Linked DNA regions of Homo sapiens: all the other regions are linked to region 1. The links are contacts of gene promoters, found by promoter capture Hi-C in blood cells and fetal thymus (Javierre and others, 2016). All regions are on one chromosome and are shown on one strand. The core of a region is centred on a gene start or on the middle of the fragment in contact, and the rest is flanking DNA. Distances in the headings are between cores, read along the strand shown. Region 1 holds the start of MAP3K1 (mitogen-activated protein kinase kinase kinase 1). Region 2 overlaps LOC105378977 (a long non-coding RNA gene). Region 3 overlaps LOC105378977 (a long non-coding RNA gene). Region 4 has its middle 120 kb from the start of LINC01948. Region 5 has its middle 96 kb from the start of LINC01948. Region 6 has its middle 79 kb from the start of LINC01948. Region 7 has its middle 61 kb from the start of LINC01948.

Region 1 (3,737 bases), core at 750-3,249:
CCTTTGGTCTCAGTAGTGCCATGGTACAGTGCGAAGCATATTTTTTAGTTCTTGGGGAGAGGAAGGGGACTTCCAAATACTAAATGGATCGTGATTTTAAGCAAATAATCAAATGCACAAAAAATGCCAGATCACTTTAGATAATGAATCCAAACCAAGGACTCCTACTGTCAAATTCGTCTCACAAAATGACACGCTTTCTTCTCATAATAAAGGTCAGGGAATTCTACAGGGCCACGAGGGACTATCACAAAAACATTTCCAGCAACTCAAAATACCCATCAAGACTTTGTACTTTGCATACGTTAATCAGGTTTTTAAAAAACAAACAAACAAGGATGTAGCTGTCACACTTAAAAGAATTTCCTTTAACATAAAAATTTCCAGTAGCCAAAAATGGGCGAGGCCAATAAACCGCTGGTCTAAATTACCTTACACATACTGTACTTCATATGCACCAGAAGACGCATCTGAGCCGAAGCCCACCGCACTGCGGCCCCTGGAATTCAGCGGGCGGCCCGCGCCAGGGCACCGAGCAGGAAGCACTGCACCCGCGCCGCAGTCCCCGGGCCAAGCCGGAGGGGCTGCGGGGAGCAGTCACCACTGCTTTGAAACTGAATGGCTGACACATCCGGTCCTGGCTCTTACACCACTCCGCCAAATGCAAACTTCAAAGGCCAAATTCAAACTCCAAACAGAAGTCACTCAAGTGACTTAGCAGTGCAGTTCGCATTCCCAGGAACACTCAAAGCCCCTTGGGGGCTGCAATTAGACAAACCGCACTTCCTAAAAGACTGCAAGCCTCCGCGAGTGTGCAGCCTCCCGCCGCACGGCTTTGACAGGCGTTACCGAGCCGTCCTCCTGGAGCCCTGCGGCCGGCGCTGGGGGCGCGCCGCCTGCGTCCGGGCCCAGCCCGCGGTATCTGCCTAGGGACTCGAGTCCCGGGCGGGCCGAGGGGCTCTGCCTGTCACGGCCGCTGGGACCTGCTACTTTCTCTTCGGTCCTCTCAGTCTCCCACCCGACCTCGGGCTTCTCACCCACCCCGCCCCTCTTCCGACCACCGCCCGCCTCAGGCTCGGGCCTCGCCCCCCAGTGCCTTTGCCCCGGGGACACCCGTCCGGGGGCGCCGCCGCAGGGCCGTGCCCCGCCCCCGGGCTCCTCGGAGAGCCCCGATTCCAGGAGTCCCACAAAGCCAGCCGTGGCCCCCTACACCTTTTCGCAACGGTTCCCCGCAGAGAGGCTCGCACGCCTGTCACATGTCTGCAAACAATAACAAACTCTTCCGCACGTCCCCGTCCGGTCCCCCAGGCTGGGTCCGGGGCGCCGCCCGACTCCGAAGGGGTCGGGGGGTGCTCAGGGGCGTAGGTCCCGGCGAGCGGCGCGTAGCCTCGCTGCGCTGAACCCCGGGACGCCGTGCATGGTGCCCGGGGTTCATTCATTGCCCTCTGCCCGCTCTCCAAGTCCCCGCCGCGACCCCGGCCGTGCTGCTCACCCGGCGGGGGCCGCTGCAGGAGACGGCTCGGCGGCGGGCGCCCGCTTCTCCCCGGGCTCGGCCGCTGCGGGACTCGAGGCGCCGCTGTCCGGCGCCGCCACCGACTCGGTAAGGTGGGCGCCGCCGCGGCTCGCGGCTCCGTGGGGCGGCGGCACCGCCACAGGCTGGAAGCCGGTCCCACTCCCCGCTGCGTCCGCGGGCTCCGGCGACGGGGAAGTCGAGGAGGCCGGCGGTGAGGCGGCAAGGAAGAGCGGCTGCTCAGGCAGCTGGTCCAGCTCCACACTCCGCACTTTGCGCAGCTGCCGCCGCCGCCAGTCCGCCCGCTCGCGGCCCCCGCTGCCCGCCTCCCGCAGCAGTCCCGCGGCAGCCGCGGGCGCGCTGCTCGCCTTGAGGGCTCCTCCGCCGCCGCCTGCCTCAGGGCTCGTAGCCCTGGCGCCCGGGAATCCCGACGACGAGGCGCGATTCCCCGCCGCCGCCGCCATTTTCTCTCGCGGGCTACATTCGCTCGGCCCCTGCGAGGGAGGGAGGGGGCGGGGAGAGCGCAGGGGGCGGGCACTGCGCCGCCAGCGTAAGGCCTCCTGCGCCAACTGCGTGAGCGCGGCCCGCCGGGCGCCTGGCCTGGACTGACCGACGGGCGGGCGCACTGGGTCCGGCCTGCGGCAGAGGTGTGGGTGGAGGGCGGCCCGGCGGCCGCAGGTGGGAGGGAGTGGGCTGTGCTCTCCGCCGGGCGAGAGGGCGGGCGGGCGAGGTGGACTGGGAGGCGGAGGGGGCGGGGGCGGAGGCGGAGGCGTGGGCTCCCGGGACTCTGCGCGCTGCACGCGCCGCGCCGCCAGGTAGTCCCGGCCGCACCGGCGACAGGAGGAGCCTTGGCGGCAGCGCTGCGCCGCTTCCTCTCGGCAATCTCGGCCCGGCACCGCGGAGCTCGCGGGAGGGGAGTTGCACCTTCCGAAAGAAAGAATTAGTTCCAACTTGGGTTTCTGGTGCTTGAAGGGGACGCAGGCGAGAGGGTTTACAGTCTGTCATTCCCACTGCCCTTTGCAGTGGGCGTCGGGGGACCCGGGCGTGGACCAGCCTCCCACCGACGCGCAGGTGGCGCCCGGGACCGTCGCCTGCTGCAAAGCGAAAGCAAGTCAACGTTCAGCAGACAGGCTGCCGCGGACCAGAAAAATAAAGTTTTGTTTGTGTTTTCTTTTGAAAAGAAAACATTCCTTCTCTATTGTCCCACCCCTGTCCCTGTGCTACAGATAACAAAACTTCAAAGTTTTCTGTAATACCTTACATCCTGAAGCTGCTGATTTGGGACAACTACCCCCTACCCTCACCAAGTCCCCACAGCCTCTGAGAAACCGTTGGGGCGAGGAAGGGAGGCGGGTGTCCCCGTCGATCTTTAGTTTTTCCTTGGCTGTCTTTGGGAAAGGCAGTCCCGTACAGAACCACATATAGCGCGTTTGGGGAGGGGACCAGCGCTGTGCCAGGAAGTGCTCGGTAATGTCACCCTCGGCCAGGTCCCGGCCCTCCCCGAATCCGATGCTTCTCGCCGCACGTCCTTCTTCCCTGCAGGGTCGGGCCACCGGCCGGGTTCCCTCTGTCCCCACTCCTGCAGGGCCTGGCTGCCCATCGCTGCGTTGTGAGTCCTCCTAGTCCCTGGACTCTACGTGAGAAGGTGCTTTGGGATGGAAAAAGCAACATTTACACGTTAATGATTTTTGACCTTTTGTCAACTGAGGAGAACTTCTGTGTTGCGTTTATTTCTTCCTTCCTTTCCTTTCCTCCAGCTGGTTTGTTTAGGATGGGGAATCTCCCAAAACCCAGGAGGAACGTCTATAGATTTACTTTGTGAAACATGATTAAGGAGGGGGGAGGTTGGGGTGGGGGGGTGCGGATTCTCACGGAGATAGTCTTGTCAGTCTTCACATATTTAGACAAAAGCCTGAACTATTTACAGAATAATTCCATTGACTTCTGGAGACTAGGTAAAATGAAAGCCCCTTTCCCAGATACAATGTTAACTGCGTAACCAGGTTAGATCAGAGGGGTTTTAAAAAGTCCAGATTTCATATTAGCTCAATGATTTGAAAACTGCTGTAACATCTCCCATAAGATAGTTTTAGATCGTTACACCCAACGGTACAAATTTTGAAAGTTCAGATAAATCTGTTAAAAATTAAGTCTACATTTAGGCTATAATTATATGCTATTTTAATGGCAGTCAAATGTATCATTCAAACCAAACAGTGGTTATTTC
Region 2 (3,737 bases), core at 350-2,849, 510 kb after region 1:
CCACGGTATAACTTTGCTGGGTATGGTTGATTGACACTCTCCATTCACTCCACCTCTTTCTATGTACTTTTCTGTACTGCAGTCTGGAAAGCTAAAATCTGCATTTCCCAGACTCTCTTGGATCTAGGGTTCTGGATGCACTTAGGCAAGACCTAAACCACAGCAGTAAGACAGCAGCTATCTCCCTGCTGCTACATCTGTGGACAAGCAGGTCATGAAAATGTGTCAGAGCAGTGGTGGCAGCTGGATTCCTGATTCTGTGATTTTATCATCAGCTTTGAAAGTATGAGGAGGCAGCTGTGGCTGCCATACTGGGACCAGGAAGCCAGGATCAGGAAGCTGCTGCTGGCCCTGGCACAGGCAGAGGCCACCTCAGCAGACAGCCACATCACTGCTAGAGAGGCAGCCAGGAACATTCCAGGTGGGAACTCCAGGATTCAAGGAGAGAAGTCACCACGGAAAAATTACCAATTTGCAGGACGATAAGTAGGCTTTCTTCCATGAGTACATTTCCTGGCCACAAAAAGACAATCATGGTTTTATCTTGGCTTTATATATAAGAATATGTAAGTAGAGTAGTTTGCTTCTGCTGAAGTTCTGACCATATGCCTCACCCTCAGGTCATCATCAGATGCCAGTTGTATATGTTTAGGGATGTCACATAACATCTCTGGGCTTCAGTTTCTTAATCTGCCAAATAACAGCATATGATGAGATGACTTTTCCAAAGACATGTTCTGTTCTAAAATCCTGTGAGCTATTAGTGTAATTAAAAACAGATATCTGCTACATCCTTTTTTGCCCTGAAGGACTGAGCCAGCCACAGATTCATTTCAGTGCTATTAGTGACTGTTATTGCTGAACTGCAGGCCTCTCAAAATTCGTATGTTGAAGCCCCCACCCCCAGGGCCTCAGAATGTGACTGTATTTGGACACAGGGCCTTTACAGAGGTATTAAATTAAAATGAGGTAAATATGGTGGGCCTTAATCCAATACAACCGGTGTCCCCACAAGAAGAGGAGATTAGAAAACAGAGAGACGATCATGTGAAGGCAGAGGGAGAAGCCACCCATCCACAAGCCACGAGAGGAGACTCAGGAGAAACCAAACCTGCCAACACCTTGATCTCAGACTTCTAGCCTCCAGAGTCATGAGAAAATAAAGTCCTGTCTTTTAAGCTACCCAGTGTATAGTATTTTGTTAGGGCAGCCCCAGCAAACTAATACAGTGATATCAAAATAAAACTTTCCAGAAAGCTTTCTGACAGCAAGAGAAAAAAGGACTAAGAAATTTCGCCAGCCAAGATATTCACTATACAATTAATGACCAGGAATGTAGCTAAATGTCCACAGGTAGGAGGCAGAATATCTTACCAGAGAAAGTGGAGACAAATACTGGACAACATTTCCATTTAGTAATAGAAAATGTTGTTAGCTCTATAGAGTATATGTAAAAGGTCCCCTGATGTTAAAGAATTGTTGGGATATCAGAAATAATGGCACAGTCAAAAAATCTAGAGCTCAGAGAATATGTACATTTTCTGCGAGAAAAATGACAATCACTTTATTGGCTATAATTTGAGATGTAGTCTAAGTTACTCTGGTCACTGCTTCCCAAATGTGTTGAGTTCCTCCCTGGGCTTTCCACTGGGTAAGTGAATGACCAGCTCATTGTTTTTGCCCTCTTTAAACATTGCTACCAGCCACTCTCCTCTCAGAGCCTCCCAAGTCTGACAAATATGAGCACCAAGAGGAAAGGAGAAGGGTCTGATTTCTGTTCATGCTATGACCCACTTGGTTCTCTGCATCTGCAGTCCAGCAGTTAGTTCCACACCTGGGACCATTTGGATTCCACTTGCAGGCCTGGCACTGCCTCCCCTCATAAGCTCATTTTAAGCCCAGGTGGATGTAACTTTGTTGATTCAGCATGAAATAAGCTTTGGCCCACCTGGCTTAGATACTGAGCTTCTGAGAGTACAATGACCTGCAAAAGGGTGCCCACACATACATAGTGGTATGCTGATTTCCAGGTCCATTCCACTATCCTAGGGATTCTCAGCTTTTTTCATATTGTGAGACATCACTGTGGGGCAGGAATGACCTAAAGGTTCCAGCCATCTAGGACCTGCCTGTGTTCCCCAAGGGTTGAGAGGATCAATTACTTGGACACGCCTGTTACCCAGTCCTACGGAAGCACACAAGCTGGGAGCTATGATGCTCTACTCCACTGCAACCATTAATGGCACTAAGTAGAACTAAGACTATACCTTATTGTCTACACCAGGGGTCTCCATCTCCCAGGCCTTGGACCAGTATTGGAACCAGGCTGCACAGTAGGAGGTGAGCAGTGGGGGAGTGAGCATTACCACTGAGCTCTGCCTCTTGTCAGATCAGCTGCAGCATTCAATTCTCATAGGAGCGCAAACCCTACTGTGAACTACGCATGCGAGAGATCTAGGTTGTGTGCTCCTTATGAGAATCTAACTAATGCCTGATGATCTGAGGTGGAAGAGTTTCATCCCAAAACCATTCCTTGCCCACCCTTTCCATGGAAACATTATCTTCCATGAAACTGGTCCCTGGTGCCAAAAAGGTTGGGGACCACTGGTCTACACTATAGTAGTACTTGAGGGTGACCATGAGATGCCTACTAAGAACTTAGAAAGAGTGAAATGATATTGCTTTCTACACATTAAACAGCGAGAGCAGTTTATATTAGGCTGTAATAAGAATATACAAATCACTTTAAAAAGACAGCATGTTACCCGGGAAGCACTGTTGATTATAACTTGATTAAAAGCATAGAAAATGTAAAGATAGCATGAACCATCATCATCAAGATCTAGAAAATGGGAGGGTGAATATTGGCTGAGACTGTTCAGGTGTTCAGGGACATGGAGCTTTAGCTGCTAGGCTCCAATTTCTCCCTTTTTCCAGACCATCCTGATGGCAGGATGGATACATCCAGCCATCTCATCCTGATGCTATTATACACATATATCTAAATCTCCTCATCTTGATTCCATGCACACAAAGCATCCTTCTCATTTTAGTTTTGCCTTCCATGTAAGTCTGCCTTGGGAAGGGGAGTGAGGGAATGTACTACTTGCAGGGACTTTCAAGAGTTCTGGTCCCCAAGATGGGGATGTCTCCTGATAAATCAGAGAGATGACTTCCGATTACAACTTGGGTTACCATGAAGATTTTTACAGGGAGAAAATTTTCTGGAACAGGCCAAGAGGAGCTTTCCTGTCCATGTGACGGCTATAGATTTCATGCAGATTAATTGTTTGACATTCTTAAATCTCATGCAAACTAATGTTTATTTTTATTGGCATGGATAACTTACCACCTGATCACCAGCCACTGCCAATGATGAGAATCTGAGTATTTGAAGAAGTGAGCGGACCCTCACATGATGGAACTTAATGAGGGCCTATAAAATGTGGCCATGCCCAGCTGCAGTGGGTACTTCCTTGGGCCGTACCACCACTATTTCCATCTCTGTTCTGTCTCCCAGTTTCTGTATAACTCGTGTCTATTTCAGAAGTAATATATAATCTTGAAGCAAGTGATTGTGCTGGGTGATTCTGATCTCCAAGTTCAGATGACTTTGAAAGAATTATATTTATTTATTCAACAAACCTAGTTTACCCCCAGATCTCCATAGCCAGATAAAAAGACAAAATGAGAATTTTTTCCTTGTGACACTGTGCTTTGTGAGCTATTTATCTAGC
Region 3 (3,737 bases), core at 715-3,214, 470 kb after region 1:
TCAAGACTGTCAACTATTCTAGGTTCTTTGCATTTCTGTGCAAATTTAGAATCAGCTTGTCAGTTTCTACACAAAAAAAAAGTCATAAGGATTTTGACTGAGACTATGTTAATGCACAGATCTGGAATTCACAAACTTTTTCATTTAAGAGTCAGATCATAAATATTTTAGGTTTTGAGAGCAAAAGCAGCCGTAGGTAATATGTAAGTTAAGGGAAGGAAATACATTTTAAATAGCTTTTACTCCACAGAAAAAGCAGTGAACAAGATCATGTTTTAGGGTATGGCTGTGTTCCAATAAAACTTTATTTACAAAAGCAGGCAGTGGGCTCCATTTGGTCCATGGGCCATAGGTTTTTGACCTCTGTTATGGACTAATTGGCATATTTACAATATTGAATCTTCTAATCCATAAATATAATATATCCCTCTATTGATTTAGGTCTTTTTTTATTTTGACTGAACAATATTTTATTGTTTTCAGTATACAAGTATTGTACACTTTTGTTAAATATATACTTTTTTATGTTCTTGTAAATGGGCTCGAATTGACTTTTTATCAGTGAGGTCTATTTCAGGGAGTATAGGACTTATAATTTATTCTCTATTATCAAGGATACAACTAATATTTTGTTACTAAATGATGTTCAAAAATAGAACTAGAATAAAATTTAAAAATCAATCTGGACAATCTACCTTTAAAAGCACATTGACTTTTTCCCCTTCAATTTAGTACTTCCAAATAAAGACTTTTCTAAAAAGCAACTCTGAGGAACAGAAAATGTAGAATTAAAATTACAGAGAGTGAGCTCTCCACAAGTAACTTGTAGGTAGGGCAAGAATGGCTCATTTTTTTAAGAATGGCTTACTTAAAAAAAAAAAAACAGGCTTACCATCATAATTATACCTTTCTTAGAACAACCTTAAGTTTTTGGACACCTATTTGCTTCTGGGTGGCCAAGAAATTAGATCTGGGGTTAAAAATGCTACCACTAAAAGTTCTCAAAGTACAAAGCCATCAACAATGAAAGGTGCTGAGTGTGAATGTAAGCACAGAGGTGAAGAGCATGGGCTTTGGTACTCACCCTGCCTCTTCTGCACTCTGAGACCTTGGGCAAGTCGTGCAGGCCTCCTATATCCCAACTTCCTTTGTGTGCATACTGAAAACAGTATCACCTGTTCTTGATACAGAAGCTGGAGAAGAAAGAAAGAGAGAAAGAAAGAAAGAGAGAGAGAGACAGAGAGAGAGAGAGAAAGAAAAAGAGACAGAGAGAGAAAGAAAGAGAGAGAGAGAAAGAAAGAAAGAAAGATGGGAAGGAAGGAAGGAAGGAAGGAAGGAAGGAAGGAAGGAAGGTAGGTTACCTATTTCACAAAGTTGTGGTGAGTATTAAATGCGATGTGTATAAAATTCTTCCGACAGCACTAGGACACAGCAAATGTTCAATGAGAGAGACTATTAGAATGTTTCTTTTTTATGAAGATAAAATTGGTGATGATTATGAGTTTTGTTATTAAGCTTATGTATGTAGCAAGTATGTTCTAACTTCCTTCATCATCGATATAAGCAAAAAAAAAAAAAAAAAAAAAAACCCACCAATCTAATAAATGGCTCAGCTTCCAGTAGTCAGCTGGAGAAGGGAGAGTAGAAATGGGAAAAATTGGTGGTGTGGAAACAAATAATAATTCCTCCTCACCAGGCATCAATCTAAGAAAGGAAGGCCCAGAAAAGAATACTAAGGTCCAGCTCTATGACTCTTTCTGTTCTATTACCATTGAAAGAATCTCCCTTAAGGGTTGCTGCTTCTGGTCTTTCAGATCCTAAATACACTATTCTCTGTTTCATGTCAAGGCCCAAAATGAAGACTCTGAGATTTTTCCTAAAAAAATACAGCACAGTGAGCTTCCCATGAGGTAGGATCTCCCCAGGGGGAAGTGGTTCACCTTCCAGTAAGACCAACAATAAGCTGATTGTTAATATCCAGGGTCGAACAAAGACAAGAGGTGAAGTCTGAAAGAGTTAAGGGAAGGAAATACATTTTAAATGGCTTTTACTCCACAGAAAAAGCAGTGAACAAGATCATGTTTTATGTGGATAAATTTGGCCCCTTTTAGTACGAAAAATGGCCTGCCATGCACCATAAACTCTCTTTTGTATCATTACTTTTAAAAATACACCCATTTATCTTTCATTATGTTTTATTATTGCTACATTTTATTATAAACATTAAGAAGAGAGTCATTCTTAGAGGAACAGTCAAGAAAGCAACACTTACTCATGACAGGCAGTGATGAAATGCTGATACAAACTGTGTGTGTGTGTGTGTGTGTGTGGATTTTCACATTTTTCTTTGTCTGCTTTCTCATGTTCTAGGTTAGCAGATTTCCTTACGTTAAATTTCTATTGAGAAGCTTATTGTTTCTTTAGGACTCTTAGAGTTCTTAACTCTCTAAGTCAAGCAGTGTGCTAAGCATTGTGCCTGACACATTTATTTAAATTTTCTTTATCCTTTTGGCTTTCCATCATTCCATCTCATATGCACTCAGATTCAAGTCAACAAAAATTTTGGCAATGGTTACAAAGCACTAGCTCTTTCCATCTGCCACCCAACTTCCAGAGAACCTCAAAAAAATTGATGGTCATCTCTGAGCTCCTTATAGTCCTGCAGGATTCAAAGATGGCACTCCTGAGTGTGCCATGTCTACATGGTCTATGAGTAGCTCCACGTTCTGCTGCTCTCTGCAAGCCCAGTGATGTTTCTTCTGACTCACAGGCTGCTTCACACCTTTCAGAAGTCTCGTACTCTGCTCCAGAAATGTGGGACTTTCCCAGGAAAATCCTGAGAATTGGTTCCTAATCTGTTCCCTGCGAACCCCCACCGTCACCATTGGTAGTTATTTACTGAATGCCTACTGTGTTGTAGACATTGTGCTAAGCACCAAGAACATCATAAGACCTATTTCAGGCTCTCAAGGATACACAGAACAGTGGGGGCACATGTGAAATCAACAATTGTGTGATAAGATTTGTTATGTAGGAGTATGCATCTAAATATGGGTGGAAAGGAGGAGGTTAAAAGAATGGTTCTCAGAGAAGGTGATGTTGAAGAGACAATGTATTGAAAGATTATATAGGAATTAGTTAGCTAGAAGTGGAAGAAGGAAGGAGGATGCTACAGGCAGCGAGATCAGTATGCTCAAAAGTATGGAGTAACCAAACAGTGGGGTTGGTTTGAGGAAATGTAAGAAACTCGGTATGACTGAATGAAGAGGGATTTAAGGAGTGGAGGGAGATGAGGATAACATGTAACATGTTGATTGCATAACTTATGGGAAGTAATCATAGACAACTTTATTTTTCCGTACAAATGACTCTTCCAAATTTATTTAGTGTGGTACTTTTCTCCTGCTCATGAAACACATAAGATCCGAAATCATGATTTCATTGCCTACTCATTTGTAGGCAAGGGATGATCTTAAAGCCCCTCTAAGTTTCTAATCATAATCCCTATTAGGAAATTAAAAAGTCTAGTCCAAGCTACTTTCAAAGGCTTTAAAATTCATTGAAAGGTGGAACTTCTCTGTGCTCATCATGCTAAGGCCTGATTAATAGCCACCTGCCTCTGGCAACATGGGTGTGATTGACTTCAACTCTCTCTGCATCCCCACTTCTCCCCCATTTATTAGTTATGGTTTCTGCCCCAACCAGGATGAAAAAAGATATGGGAGAGAGAATTAAAA
Region 4 (3,737 bases), core at 875-3,374, 450 kb after region 1:
AGTAGTAGAAAGAGAAATAATCATTTTCTTTTATTTAATAGATATTGGGGTACCTATTATGAAACAGATACAGTGCTGGGATTAAAAAATAATAAATAAGACATGATTCCTGCCTTGAAGAGCTGTTATCTGAGTTGGTCTTGGAAGACTGGTAGGAACTAACAGCAAGCAAAGAAGAAAGAGCATTCCAGATAGAGGAAATATCATTTTCAATGGCACAGGAAATGTAAAAAGCCCTAGAAAGCAAGGAGAATCTTCAGAATAACTTGAGCACATGGTTCATGTAGGAAAACATAGAAGTTGAGGCCAAGATGATTCAAGAGGTACCTGAGTGTAATGGTCAGTAGACAAGAGTCTGGCCTGTGTTCAAAGCCTAGCTCCTTTATCAACTCCATCACTTAATCTCTGTGTACCTTCATTCTTCATCTCTAAAATGAGGATGATAATACCTCATGGGTGCTAAGAAGAGTTCCAGGCATGGTTTGCCAAGAAGAGTTCCAGGCATGGTTTGCTAGAGTTTGTCCTGAGAGATGATGAGGACCAGTGCTAAGAGTGTCAGTGGAGACCAATGGCTAGAGATGTCTCTCAGATGTATTTGAAAGATATGTCACATGATTGGATTGGGGAAAGTGAGGAAGAGAACAGCAAGGAAAAGATCAAGCGTGGTGTATTAGTCCATTCTCATGCTGCTAATAAAGGCATACCAGAGACTGGGTAATTTATAAAGAAAGAGGTTTAATGGACTCACATGGCTAGGGAAGCTTCACAATCATGACAGAGGATGAAGGAAGAGCAAAGGGACATTTTACAAGGCAGCAGAAATGACAGAGTTTGTGCAGGGGAGCTCCAATTTATAAAACCATGAGATCTCATGAGACTTATTCACTACCATGATAACAGTATGGGGGAAACTGCCCCCATGATTCAGTTATCTCCAGCTGGCCTGGCCCTTGACACACGGGTATTATTACAATTCAGAGTGAGATCTGGGTGGGGACATAACAAAACCATATCACATTGCAATCATGTTTCTCACTTGAGAAAACCTAGATGGTAGGGGCAGTGATCAAGATCAGAATATAGGAGGTTCAGAATATTACTTTTTAATTTATTGTGTTTAACATTCCCAAATGAAAATCAGGTAGAAGTCTCTGTTAGGCAGTTAGCAACAAGACCATGGAGCTTTGGAAATAGCAAATATAGATTTAAAGGTTGCCAGCATAAAGATAGTAGTTGAAATCAAAGAGAAACTTTAAAGTGAGAATATATAGAGCAGGATTTCTTAACCTTGGTGCTGTTGACACTTGGGGATGGATGATTCTTTGTGTGTGTGCAGGGAGGAGGGGGGTGCTGTCTTGTACATTCTAGGATGTTTAGCAGTACCATGGCCTCTACCCAACATAGGTGCCAACAGCACCTTTTAGTTGAGACAACCAAGAATGTCTCCAGATAGTCCCAAACTTCCCCTGGGGGGCAAAATCGTCTTTCCTTGAGAACCGCAGGTATAGAGTGAAAATGGTAGAGAGGGAAACTTGGGCAAATCACACACACACACTGAGCCTCAGTTTCTGAATCCATTAATTGCAAATAATTCTAGAAATAGCACAGATAATAAGCAGTGTGGGGAAGGACTCCTTATTCAACAAATGGTGCTGGGATAACTGGCTAGCCACATGCAGAATAATGAAACTGGACCCCTTCCTTATACCATATAAAAAAGTCAACTGAAGATGGATTAAAGACTTGAATGTAAAACCCAAAACTATAAAAACCCTAGAAGACAATCTAGGCAATACCATCTTGGACATGGGAACAGGCAAAGATTTCATGATGAAGATGCCAAAATCAATCACAACAAAAGCAAAAATTGACAAATGGCATCTAATTAACTTAAGAGCTTCTGCATAGCAAAATAAACTATCAACAGAGTAAACAGAAAACCTACAGAGCAGAGAAAATTTTTGCAAACTATGTATCAGACAAAGGTCTAATATCCAACATCTATAAGGAACTTAAACAAATTTGCAAGAGAAAAACAAACAAAAAAAACATTAAAAAGTGGGCAAAGGACATGAACAGACACTTTTCTAAAGAAGACGGGCTGGGTGCCGTGACTCACACCTGTAATCCCAGCAGTTTGGGAGGCTGAGGCAGGGAGATCACTTGAGGTCAGGAGTTCAAGACCAGCCTGGCCAACATGATGAAACCCCATCTTTACTAAAAATACAAAAATTATCCAGGTGTGATGGTACACGCCTGTAGTCTCGGCTCCCCAGGAGCCTGAGGCACAAAAATCCCTTGAACCCAGGAGGCAGAGGTTGCAGAGAGCCAAGATCCCACCACTGCACCCCAGTGTGGGTGACAGAATGAAACTCTGCCTCAAAAAAAAATAAATAAACATGAAAGTTAACAAAATAAAGACATACATGTGACCAAATATCATATTTAAAAAAAGCTCAATATCACTGATCATTAGAGAAATGCAAATCAAAACCACAATGAGATATCATCTCACACCAGTCAGAATGGCTATTAAAGAGTCAAAAAATGGCCGGGCACAGTGGCTCCCGCCTGTAATCCCAGCACTTTGGGAGGCCGAGCACCTCAGGCGGATCACCTGAGGTCAGGAGTTCAAGACCAGCCTGGCCAACATGGTGAAACCCCATCTCTACTAAAAATACAAAAAAAAAATAGCCAGGCATGGTGGTGGGCACCTGTAATCCCAGCTACTTGGTAGGCTGAGGCAGGAGAATTGCTTGAGCCCAGGAGGCAGAGGTTGCAGTGAGCCAAGACTGCGCCAATGCACTCCATCCTGAGAAACAAGAATAAAACTCTGTCTCAAAAATGAATAAGTAAATAAATAGTCCAAAAATAACAGATGCTGGCCAGGTTGTGGAGAAAAAAGAACCCAAAAGAACACTGTTGGGGGGAGTGTAAATTAGTTCAGTCATCGTGGAAAGCAATGTAGCAATTCCTCAAAGAGCTGAAAACAGAACTACCTTTCAACCCAGCAATCCCATTACTGGGTATATACCCAGAGGAATATAAGTCATTCAACCATAAAGACGCATGCACTTGTATGTTCATTGCAGCTCTATTCACAATAGTGAAGACATGGAATCAACCTAAATGCTCATCAATGACAGATTGGATTTAAAGACTGTGGTACATATACACCATGGAATATTATGCAATCATAAAAAAATGAGATAATGTCTTTTGTGGGAACCTGGATGGAGCTGGAAGCCATTATCCTTATCAACTAATGCAGGAACAGAAAACCAAATACCGCATGTTCTCACTTGTAAGTAGTTGCTGAATAATGAGAACTCATGGACACAAAGAAGGAAACAACAGACACTGGGACCTACTTGAGGGTGGAGGATGGGAGGAAGGAGAGGGGCAGAAAAAATAACTATTGGGTACTAGCCTTTGTAGCTGGGTGATAAAATAATCTGTACAACAAACCCCCATGACACAAGCTTATTTACATTACAAACCTTCACATGTACCATCAAACCTAAAATAAAAGTTAAATAGAAAATGTGATATATATACACAATGGAATACTGTTCAGCCACAAAAAAAATGTAATTCTGTCATTTGCAGCAACACAGAGGACATGATGTTAAATAAAATAAGAGAAGCACAGAATGATAAATACCACATGTTCTCATGCATGAGAGAGCTAAGAAAAAGTAGAGTACAATCGTGGGTATTAGAGGCGGGGAAGGGTG
Region 5 (3,737 bases), core at 811-3,310, 430 kb after region 1:
ATTCCCAGAAATAGGAGGTGACAACATCTAAGGCCATCTTTCCTGCTTCACAGTATTTTTTCAACTGTGCTTATTATAAATAGTTTTGTCCCCTCTTTATAGAAGTTGACTCTAAAAATTCTGTAAGATTGCAGAGCAATTGTACATTTTCAGAGCCATCATATTCTCAAATCTTCCCAAGTAGCACCAGTATTTTCATCCAAGAAACTCTTTAGATCCCCTTAGTATCATTCTGTGCCTGGGGTTTTCCGCACTTTTGGACACTGCCATTCATTCAACAAATTCAAGGACGATAAGACGCTGCTGTAGCCCTCCCGCCTGGAGTGTGGAAGACAGTGGGCGAGACAAACTCAATAGCAATGCATTGCTATCTTTATAGACCCAATTTCTAGTTATCTCTGAAACTATGGTATGTGGCTCTTTGAACGTTCTATTTTGTCTTATTTTGCTTTGGAAGTGCATTCTTTCAAGTCTAATTAGACTATTTGTGGCTTAAAGAAAAATACAAAGCTTTTCCCAGGACACTTTGGGCTTTCATGTTTACCATCAAATTAGCAAAAAACAAACACACACAATTCTAAGGCATTTATTTTGAAATTTAATTGTATACACACTTGCATATAATTTCAACTTCACAGTGAGTTGTCCCATAGGCATTTTCTGCAGAAAATTTTTGGAAAGACCAAAAGAATGTTTGTGCCTACTGGCTAGATCCAGTTCCCTCTGGGAGGACATTACAGACTCCAATTCACGTGAGATGCTAGGCAGGCTAGGACTGAGGATACCCAGGAATCCTCTCGCTGAATTTCCTGGTGTGGAGCTCATTTGACAAATGTGGTTTCCATTTATGAAACTGCTTAGCAACCATCCTGTATTTTAAATTCTGCTAATGTCAAAAATCACAAAACTGAGAAAGAGGAGGAAATTTGAGGCTTGCTTGATTGATGAAGAAACCAGGGCTCAAGTAATTGCATAACCAAAACCATCAACTGGGCTTAGAGCTAACACAACTTGTTCATGCAAACCAGCATCAACAAACCCCAGAGCCACACAATTTGCCACCCAGACTTCTGGTTAACGCCCAGCAAAGAGGCCTTGATTCCTGAAGGTTGCAGGCTGATAACTCCAATAAGACCAAGAAACCTTGTGAAAGTACCACTCACCAACTGATTGTACTGCTGGAGCTCCCAGAAACCACGTAGATGAGGAAATTCAACTGGCAAATAGCAAACTGCCTCAATGATATTTGAAAATTGATTTAATGTTATTATAATTCCCTGAATAACCAAAGATCGTCTGGTGAAGGGTAATCACTACAGAGGGAACATATGTTGTTTTAAAAATTATGTCACAAGCTGTAATTCTTTTAACTCTGTTTGTAAAATTAGGTTATATCCCTGATATTACATATTTTATTCTTCCTTTCTCCATGGGAACAAGATATCTTTAACTGTCCTTAGGACTGGAATGATTTTGGGGTAAACTAAATAGAAAGGTTAGAAGAAGAATAAGAAAGAGGAGGAGGAGAGAGGGGGAATGGGAGAGGAGGAAGAGGAGGGGGCAGGAGGAAGGAGAAGGAGAAAGAGGAAAGGGAAGCAGGAGGAAGAAGAGGAGGAGGAAGAGAAGGAGAAAAGAAAGAGAAAGAAAAGAATAACAGCAACAACAACACTCAAGAGAAGAGCACTAAAGGATGATAGAACCTCCCTGCAATACTAAAACACTGGCCTTAGGGTAAGTAGAATGATTTTTTTTTTTTTTTGATCCGTATTCTTCCATTTTTTCAGTCTTCACATCCTAATGCTGAGACATCAGATGGGTGAGGAATTCAACTGTGGGGTAGTTTCTATGAAATTAGGGTGATGTATTATTTGCCAGGGGTCTGTGAGAGAAGTAAATAGCAATCTAGATACTCCAATATTAATTAGAGGTGAAGATAATAGAGATGGATTTTGAATTTGATTTTTTGAGTCCTTTGGATAAAGATGCAAGAGAATCCCTCAGGCAATCGCTCCTTATGTTCCTCAAGGATTTTCTCACATGGATTCTAAATCAGGGTTTATCTTAGCAAGCAGTCTCTAAAATCTTGGATATTTAAAAAATGTTCTGTAAGATAATGTTTCCCATAAGTTTCCAGCAGATAAATAAAAGGAATGCTCCAGAAGACAGTTCAGGTAGTATGGAGCCAGTGAGATTTGGCTGTCCAGTCTTTTTTCTCACTTAGACTCATTTCGTGGTTTCAGACAAAATTCTTTCCTCTCTCCACTTAACTAAAGAATACTCATCACGTGTATACATATGTAACTAACCTGCACGTTGTGCACATGTACCCTAAAACTTAGAGTATAATAAAAGAAAAAAAAAGAATCCTATCTGAGGTTGCTTGATGCAAACCTTTTTCTTTATTTTCATTATTTTCTTAGTATCTTTTATTTTGTTTTTGATTTTTCTTTTTTGTTTATTTCATCTCTTAAAATTTTTATTAATCTTGAAATTTTTAGCATTTTAATAGCTGGGTTTTTTTTCTTTTGTGGTGGTTTTTTGTAGAAGCATCATGAGAAATGTCTAGACATTGAAAGCCTTATCCCTATCATAGCCTGGTTTTAATCTTATTAACTCCATGTTTTCCCAGTATGAATGCTCTGTTAAAACAGTATTTACAAGCAAGACAGGACAGTGGCCCACCCAGGAATGACACAAAGCCAGGGGAGCCTCCCCCACCTAGGGAAGCGGTGAGCAAATGTGCGACCCCGGAAAACCACGTTTCTCCTACAGATCTTCGCAACTCTTGGGTCAGGAGATCTCCTTGTGAACCCAACAGGGCCTTCAGTCTTGAGTCAGAGGGACAGAGCTAGGTGGAGTTTCGGCAGAGCTCAGGCTTGCGCGCAGACCCTGGAGCCTTAGATACTTCCGCTTTCCAGCAAAAGCAGCTGCAGCTCTGGCAAAGTGGGAGGTTAGACTCCCACACATATTTCTAGGAAAGAGCCTGAATCCCGGGAGCTGAGCAGCAACAGCCCGAAGATCCCACTTCCACAGCATCTCACAAGATAAGACCCACTGGCTTGGAATTCCAGCCAGCTACCAATAGCTGCATTGCAGCCCCATAAAAAGAAGCTCGGCAAGGGGGTGACATCTTTGCTGTTCGGATGCGTTAGTCATTCCAGCTTTCAGGCTTTGGAGAGTCTGAGCCAATCCAGGGTGGAAGGGATCCCCCAGCACAGCACAGCTGCTCTACCAAAACGTGGCCAGGCTGCTGATTTAAGTAGGTGCCCGATCCCATTCCTCCTCACTGGGTAGGACCTTCCAACTGGGACCTCCAGTTGCCCGGCTCAAGCTCTCCACGGACAGAGATCTAAATTCCCCCAACATGGTACGCCCAGAGAGAGCGGGGCGGGGCCGCGGGGGTGGGGGTGCTAGCTTTGCTGTTTGGGTGACTTAGCCATTCCAGCCTTTGGGTTTCATAGTGTCTGAGGCGACCAGAGCCTGAATTTTTTTTATCTTCTCTACTGATTTCCTATTTTAAATGTCATCTTCAATTTTATGATTTATTTTCTCCTGCTTATTTTGGATTAGTTTGCTCTGCTTTTTCTAGTTTCCTAAGGTGGAAGCTTAGATGATTGATTTTAGAACTTTCTTCTTTTCTAATATATGCATTCAAGGCTGTAAATTTCCTTCTAAGCGCTGCTTTTACTGCATCCTACAAATTTTGATAACTTGCATTTTTATTCTCATTTAGTTCA
Region 6 (3,737 bases), core at 815-3,314, 410 kb after region 1:
CATTAAACCACATCTGGAATATGGCATTTTCCTTTTTGGGGCACCCAAAACTGAGGAATGAGCAAAAGAAAGTGACCAGAATATTCTACAGGGAATAGAAAGAAACAGAAATGAAAGGAATTTTTTTTTTTTTTTTTTTGGAAACGGAGTCTCACTCTTGTTGCCCAGGCCGGAGTGCAATGGCGCAATCTCGGCTCACTGCAACCCCCACCTCCCGGGTTCAAGCAATTCTCCTGCCTCAGCCTCCCGAGTAGCTGGGATTACAGGTGCCTGCCACCACACCCAGCTAATTTCTGTATTTTTAGTAGAGATGGGGTTTCACCATGTTGGCCAGTCTGGTCTCCAACTCCTGACCTCAGGTGATCAGCCAGCCTTGGCCTCCCAAAGTGCTGGGATTACAGGCTTGAGCCACCGCACCTGGCCAAGACAGAACTTTTGAGTTGACATGAGAATTGTCTTCAAATATTCCAAGGGGCATCAATGGCACAGATAATAGTAAGACCTACCTGGGAACAATGTGTGCTTTGTATTAATAGCTGAGTATTAACAGGAATGCAGCAGGTCGCTAAGACACATCCTTTGTATCTTCTTAAGTAGGGTCCTAGCATTATATGTAGCCTTGTCCACACAGAATCGTAAGCTTCTACCTCCATGAACTCCCCCCATCTGCTCTCACTGCGCTACTTTAAAGCCTTCAGAGGCTCTTCTCAAATGAAGCATTTTGACAATATACATCTCACATGAACAGTAATTTCTGGCACGAAAAGAATTTTTAGAAATTTTAAATAAAACATGTTTTTTGAAATTATTTGATTATGAAAAAACTAATTTAGTTTATAAGGAGAATATTTGGAAATCTTTGGAAAATCTACCTATAAACTGCTTGCAAATGTACTGGGATTTTGTTTTAAGGTCTATAATTAATTAAGTTGATAGAATGCTGCTGGTCGACATTAACCATTGATTAATTTTGTGTTTATGGGATTGTTATATATGTATGTGTATAATTGCTATATATATTATAATACAAATACATTAGGTCTTGTATTTTCATAATCCTTTTCAAAGCACATAGGTCCTAGTCACAGAGCTCACAATGACAAGTTGATAAAATGGCTCTGCTTATCTCAAGTTGATAAAAAGTCTGTTCCATGGTAAGCACTCAGTATTTGCCGAATCAGTTAAAATACTGACTCATCAAATAACAACCAGAAATTTCTAGTTCTTTTCCCTGCTCAAAGCTCGAAAGAGGGAATTAAAAGATGAGTGGGAATGGGAGGGGAGGGGCAGCAGCTGTCTTCGAATTTCTGTGGATCCTGTTTGCCAAGAAAAGATACATCCTAATTTGGTTTTTAATTGCAGGTGTGATTGTCCCCAGTGCTGCACCACAGACATTACCATGTTAATAGCAGGAAGTGTACTGGGATCAGAGAAGCAAGGTCCCATTTAGTGCAGGAGTTGAGTCACAGCTTTTCTAAAAAGAGGATTCTAAATATACTGAAAGGGGGGACTAGCTGCTGGATATTGGGAAGGGTGCCTTTTTGCAGGTCTTTTTGAAAAAAGGCAACAGATTAAGCAGTGGATCAAAATATAAGTGAAAGACTTGCCCACCAAGTTAAAAAGCAAAAAAGAACTGAACTAAACTAAAAATAGCTCCAACCCAGAGATCAAGAGGACTATTTTGTCCAAGGAAAGAATAGAAGTGGCCCGCTTACACTCCGCCAAGCCACTAGCTTCAAGTGCATCATTGTGCCAATAGCAGAGGGTCTGAAAGGCTTCATTATTAAGAAGTTAATGCTTGACAGCAGCCGACTCCACCACAGCAAAATTACCAGCCTCCGAAAGACTGCCTCCTATGAGTCTTGGGTTAATTACTCAAATCTCCAAATTATCCTTCAGGGAACAAAATGAAGCATGCAGAATCAAAAGCAGATCTGTAGCTGAGATTATGAAAAGGGAGTGGGTTCCTTTCCATTTTAAAAAATGATTATTTCTATTGTAGGAACCACAGAGGGGAAAGGGAAAAAAGCAAAACAAAAAACCTGCCCCTGTACCAAGCAGGCAATAAATGGCTGGCAGCCGTACAGCCCAAGGGGAAAACAAAATCTGCCCATATAAATATTCACATGAAAGCGTTGTCTAAATCTCCTAAACAAGTCACCCCAAATCAAATTGCTTGAGAAGAAAGGGGGTGCTGAAATGGAGACAAACACCCCAAGTCTTGTTGCTGAAAAATATTTTCACTAGCTGCCATTTTCCAAAATAGCTGGATGTACTCAATCAAGCCACCTAATATCTACTGAAAATAAAGTACTTAAACATTATTTCTCCCTCTATATGTACATATATTTATTTCCTAGCCTTACTTCCCATTTCACGAAGTAATTTAAAATGTTTTTTATTTAGAACCGCCACCACCAAAACATTTAATTTTTTTCCTGCTTCCCGCCGCCCCCATCAACCATGGCTGTCAGAGGCTCCCAAAACTTTCTAAGAGAAGTAATTCTCAAACAGAGATCTCTGGGCATATTTTTGGAAGGGGAGGGGGCTCCATGAACTGTAAGAAAATTAAAAAATTTTTAATTTAGTATTTTTGTTATGATGATAATTTTATTTTTATCACTTAGACAACATTTCTATTCTGCAGTGGTGATTTGCTATTGCATGACTTTCATGGAGGAAGTCTTCAATATTTTAAGTCAGTGTTTCTCAAATAAGGGCCTGTGGATTTACTCTCAGTAATAGGAGAAAATTTTATTTCTTAAAAAGGACCTGTATAGTTCACACATTTTAAAAATTGAGCTACAAGGGCATTAATATCTGTTTCACAACCAGCAGACTCTCCATCACCAATATGCATCTGTGAACCCTAAAGCAGGGTAATCGGGCTCATTGGCAAAGACTTCAGGTATTACATAAGAATTCTTCCTAAAATCAGAACAGTAGGTGTCTGCTCAGTCCTGGGTTGAACAAACTACAGATAAAATGCCTGGTACAGACATTGCTTGGTACAATGCCTCGTACAGACTTTTCATGTTAATGTCATATTTAGTTTTATTATTGTTACTTGGATTGCTTAAATCCCCTTATCCTCCTTTTCCCCTCCAAGGCAGACCTGAATATTTACAGACTTGTATGTTTCTCTCATGGGCTGAAAGGGGGCTTCCTCAGTCCCTGGCACACACCACTCTGCTTTCTGGCTCTACGAATTTGACTACTCTGTCACGGACTTTTTGGAATGATGTTCTGACTCTTATGTAGATCAAGGTGAATGAGGAAAACTGTATGTCCTCTTTCTTTGATCTTCTATGGACGTGTGAGTTGCCAAATCCTAGTTCTTGGGTGCAATTCATTGAAATATTTGCCCACCATTGCCTCCTGAATTATTTTGTTGGCCATCTAGAAGAACTGATCTGTGAGCAAGACTGAACTGCCTCAAAATGACCCACAAAGGAAGGCAAAAGTGGAGCTGCTTTTGCTCAAGCTTGTGGATGAACTATTTATAATTATTCTGCCCTAGAAGCTCTGGTTATGTCAAGTTGCAATTTGATATGGGTGGGTCAGAGATCCCAGTTGCCCTTTCTTGCAGCCTAAGTTTCTAAGGATTCCTCTTGGCCTATGCAAAGCTGAAAACTGATAAGAATGGCACTACCATGTTCTTTGTTTTAAAAGTGGATGATTGGACAGAATGCTGTTTGCCAATGAACAGGTAGAGACAATCTGGGATAGCAGCAGGA
Region 7 (3,737 bases), core at 603-3,102, 390 kb after region 1:
GGATATACACATAGGAGCAGAATGTGTCCAGCTGTCTAACTTTTGTAAGTCTGAGGACGTATATAGATCCTGGCACAGAGTAGTTCCTTAACGTTAATCAAAAGTGAACCTTTGTCAACATCATAAATAGCACAAATACACTTGACAAGATCAGAAAATACCATAAATATGGTTATATCCAGTTAGCAGAAATCAAAACCAAAGCTCACAGACGGACAAAAACGATTCCTTGGAGTGGGTTAACTCTGCAGAGACAGAGCAGGAGGAGAAAGAACCACAATAGCCCTGTCCTTAACAGCCAGTTCCTGGGACTTGGTCCAAAGGTACCAAAGTGGTAATTCCAGTTTGGGCACTAATTCCCACTGGACCTTAAGCAGGTCAGTTCATTCCAGTCAGCAAAATAGAGAGACTAATAAGGGCCTCTCCTCAAGGGCAATAAGGAATAAAGTTTGGAAAGCACTTTAAAATGAAAGCTCCTGTTACAGTTTGCAGAGAGGGAGGCATTCAGAAATACAGCCTATAGGCTTAGCATGGACAAAAAAGGTCAGCATATCCCAGTCTGCGTGCTGATCTAATTAAACCCTGGGCAGCCCTCGCCACTGGCCAAATTCAGATTTCTGTCTCTCCATATAATGTCTAGAAACTACAGATGGATATGAAAGAATCTAAGTTTCCTTCTGCTGAGAAATTAAAATGCAACTCTTTTGAGTCTCTCTCTGTGTACGTCCATATGTATGTGCACGTAGGAGTTGTACTGTATCACCATCCCTCACTTTATAAAAATCTTTGGATTTTTCCTATACTTCAAACACACTCAGGGAAGCAGATAGCATTGTGTTCACCATGGTAATAATAAGCACTAATAAAACATAAAGGTGATTGCAACTCTAGTATAATCCCCTCGCCAGAGGCATCAGTCTCTTTAAACTTATGTGAGAGGCCAGTGCTTTCTGGAAAATATGCATTTATGTTTTTCTTGTTATGCAACTCCACAGCCTTGCCTTGTTATTTTGTTTTGTCTGCTCCAGAAACATTTAATGGATTACTTGAGACTTCTCCTTTTCACTTTTACTTTTCTTTTGAATTTTACTTGTTAAATTCTGGGATTCCTAGCACTCTAGTGATTGCTCTGCAGGACAGACTTCCGGGACTTTCTACTCCAGGTGAAAACTGTATCTTTCACATTTGCACATAGAGAAGCTTGCCAAAACTATCCTCTAGAGAGAAGAAATTTAAGTCATATGTCATTTATTCCAAGGAACATATTCTATATGTTGCCAGTGGAATGATTTGTCTTTTTCCAGGGATAAAAACTAACCCAAAGGCATTCTGGCTTTATTTAAATCATTCACAAAAGGAGACATTTATTATGGTTGCTATAGTTCTGCACTATTGAGCAAAGTGCCTTGATGTTTATATGCCTGTGGGTCTAGTCCTACTATGAGCTTCCAGAAGGAACTGACCAAGTATAAGAATACTAGTAATATGAGAGTGCCTTATTACATTAGCTGTCTCCAAAATAAGGTTAAATTTGCAAAACATTCAAATGAAATGGCTATCACCTGGTTGTACCATGAGTTATTGAGTCTTAGTGGAAGATCACTAATTTATGACACTAAATTTTTCAGTACAGATGTGAACATTTTTCTGTATTTTAAAAAATCCTTTTTCCTGACAGAGCAGCAAAACCAATTTATTCATTCAACAAAAATATTTTAGGAAATTAGTTTGTGCCAGACAGGGAACTTTAGCATAAAAATGGAAGCTCTCTAAAAGGATTGAGGGGAAATTATAGAGCTGAAAACTACAATATTAGAAATGGAAAATTCATTCAATGTGTTTAACTACAATACTGAACACAACCTTTACTGATCCTGAAGAAAAGATCAGTAAATTTGAAGGCAGTTCAATAGAAATTATTTAAACTAAACCATAAAGAGAAAATGAATGAAGAAAAACAATAGAATGTTTTAGATGTGAGACACTGTTAGATGGTCTGATATACAGGAAACTGGTGTTAAAGAACAGGAAGGAATAAGGCAGAAGAAACATTTATAGAGATAATGGCTAAGATTTAATCCAAGGTTAATGAAAGACATTAATCCACAAATCAAAGATCAGACTCTCCTAAGAGTTTCCTATGCTACTTAGAATAAATTCCAAGATCATAGACTAAAAGTTGCTTTTGATTTGGCTGTGGTTTACCTCTGCAACCTCATTTTCCTGCATACTTTCCTCAGTGAATTCATTCCAACTCATCTTTCAGCTCTTCTTTTAGATATTTCCCTGGCTGGTGCCTCTGGATACTCAGATTTCAGTTCAAATGTCACCTTCTCTTGTCTGACTCTTACCTCTCTACTTGTCAACTCCAGCCCCATTCTCACCTCCCTTTTACTCTCTATTTAATTATTTTGGATTTTTTTCATAGCACATATAATTATTTGAATTTAATTTATGTTATGAATTCACTATTTTATTCTTCACTCATTAGAATGCAAGCTTCTTGAAAGCAGGGAATATGTATTTTTCATCATTGTGTAACATCAATTCTTAGAAAAGTGTCTGGCACATAGGTAGAAGGTCATCGTAGGGGTGTGTGTGTGTGTGCATGTGCGTGCACAGTTTCAGAAATTATTGGGGCCTGTCAAAATTCTGAATAGCTCAGCTCATATTTACTGATGCAGCTCACTCTTCCAGCTCATCTGCACTTCCTCCTTCTGATTCTCATGTTGGCAGGACAAGAGAACACAGAACATGATATTATCACAACATTTTTACCACAGCACACACTTAAGGTTAACCCATCCACAAAGATGCTTATGAAAATCAAACAGAAAAGAGAATAGGAAGCAGGGGGTGAGTGGTTTATTTCTTTTAGACCTGCTGCTTGAACTTACTTAGACTCCTCTTAGATCTGGAGCTGAATTTTTTGACATTCCTGGTCACTTTTTCTACTCAGAGCTGAGTTGGGGTCAAGAAAGGAAAAATAAACTAGTACTTAAATAAAATAGCATACATTTGAATAAGTCTCTTAATTTTTCTAGGTATTTTATCCTGCTAATTCTATTCCTACAGCATCTGTATAAAGAGATAAGCGGGCCAATCTAAAAGGATTTCTAATGAAGTTAGAAAACTGAGGTTCAGCGAGGCTAGGTGACTGTGTAAGTCTATTCTCACACTGCTATAAAGAACTACCTGAGACTGGGCAATTTATTAAAAAAAAAAAAGGTTTAATCGGCTCATGACTCCACAGGCTGTACAGGCTTCTGCTTCTTGAGAGGCCTCAGGAAACTTACAATCATGGTGAAGGCAAAGAGGAAACAAGTACATCTTCACATGGCCAACAGGAGACAGAATGACAGGGGAGGTGCTACACACTTTCAAACAACCAGATCTCATGAGAGCTGTATCTCAGCACTAGGGCAATGGTGCTAAACCATTGGACACCGCCCCCATGATCCAATCACCTCTCACCAGGCCCCACCTCCAATGCCAAGAATCACAATTCAACATGAGATTTGGGTGGGGACACAGAGCTAAACCATATCAGTGACTTTTCCAAGATCTCACAGAAAAAAAAGTCTGGGTTCCAGGTAGCCAAAGTTGTCTTCTAACATTTTCTGCCAATATTAATCTCACATTTTCAACCTCTAAGTCTTAGGTTACCTGCTAAGGATGTTTTCATAGATATGACAATTGAAAAATAGAAAATTATAGATTTCTGATGGGGAGAAATA

What was found. The method cuts DNA at HindIII sites, captures the fragments that hold promoters and counts their contacts. A CHiCAGO score of 5 or more calls a contact.
Region 2: a contact is called between a fragment that was not itself captured here and the fragment with the promoter of MAP3K1 in region 1, in 15 of 17 cell types (total B cells, naive B cells, erythroblasts and 12 more). The highest score is 21.2, in total B cells.
Region 3: a fragment that was not itself captured here is called in contact with the fragment with the promoter of MAP3K1 in region 1 in 11 of 17 cell types (total B cells, naive B cells, neutrophils and 8 more); the score reaches 22.9 in total B cells.
Region 4: a contact is called between a fragment that was not itself captured here and the fragment with the promoter of MAP3K1 in region 1, in 4 of 17 cell types (total B cells, neutrophils, naive B cells and 1 more). The highest score is 15.8, in total B cells.
Region 5: a fragment that was not itself captured here is called in contact with the fragment with the promoter of MAP3K1 in region 1 in 4 of 17 cell types (total B cells, neutrophils, naive B cells and 1 more); the score reaches 14.5 in total B cells.
Region 6: a contact is called between a fragment that was not itself captured here and the fragment with the promoter of MAP3K1 in region 1, in 5 of 17 cell types (total B cells, neutrophils, naive B cells and 2 more). The highest score is 11.5, in total B cells.
Region 7: a contact is called between a fragment that was not itself captured here and the fragment with the promoter of MAP3K1 in region 1, in 9 of 17 cell types (total B cells, naive B cells, neutrophils and 6 more). The highest score is 25.3, in total B cells.

Annotation. Positions count from the first base shown.
Region 1 is chr5:56,813,811-56,817,547 of GRCh38, reverse strand. It overlaps MAP3K1 (mitogen-activated protein kinase kinase kinase 1), which reads right to left and starts at 1,999. Exons shown (of 20, transcript NM_005921.2): 1 at 1,493-1,999. The coding sequence starts at 1,974. RefSeq lists silencers at 902-1,141, 1,322-1,441, 1,512-2,281 and enhancers at 367-1,190, 2,642-2,771. The HindIII fragment of the contact is 8,983 bases long and covers 1-3,737 here.
Region 2 is chr5:56,302,280-56,306,016 of GRCh38, reverse strand. The region is part of intron 2 of LOC105378977 (a long non-coding RNA gene); the gene reads right to left. Among named protein-coding and RNA genes, the nearest start is that of ANKRD55, 71 kb to the right of the region's middle. The HindIII fragment of the contact is 680 bases long and covers 1,260-1,939 here.
Region 3 is chr5:56,338,943-56,342,679 of GRCh38, reverse strand. The region is part of intron 2 of LOC105378977 (a long non-coding RNA gene); the gene reads right to left. Among named protein-coding and RNA genes, the nearest start is that of ANKRD55, 110 kb to the right of the region's middle. The HindIII fragment of the contact is 893 bases long and covers 1,518-2,410 here.
Region 4 is chr5:56,361,095-56,364,831 of GRCh38, reverse strand. No RefSeq gene overlaps it. Among named protein-coding and RNA genes, the nearest start is that of LINC01948, 120 kb to the left of the region's middle. The HindIII fragment of the contact is 2,721 bases long and covers 764-3,484 here.
Region 5 is chr5:56,383,574-56,387,310 of GRCh38, reverse strand. No RefSeq gene overlaps it. Among named protein-coding and RNA genes, the nearest start is that of LINC01948, 96 kb to the left of the region's middle. The HindIII fragment of the contact is 3,095 bases long and covers 513-3,607 here.
Region 6 is chr5:56,400,474-56,404,210 of GRCh38, reverse strand. No RefSeq gene overlaps it. Among named protein-coding and RNA genes, the nearest start is that of LINC01948, 79 kb to the left of the region's middle. The HindIII fragment of the contact is 2,844 bases long and covers 643-3,486 here.
Region 7 is chr5:56,418,860-56,422,596 of GRCh38, reverse strand. No RefSeq gene overlaps it. Among named protein-coding and RNA genes, the nearest start is that of LINC01948, 61 kb to the left of the region's middle. The HindIII fragment of the contact is 1,299 bases long and covers 1,203-2,501 here.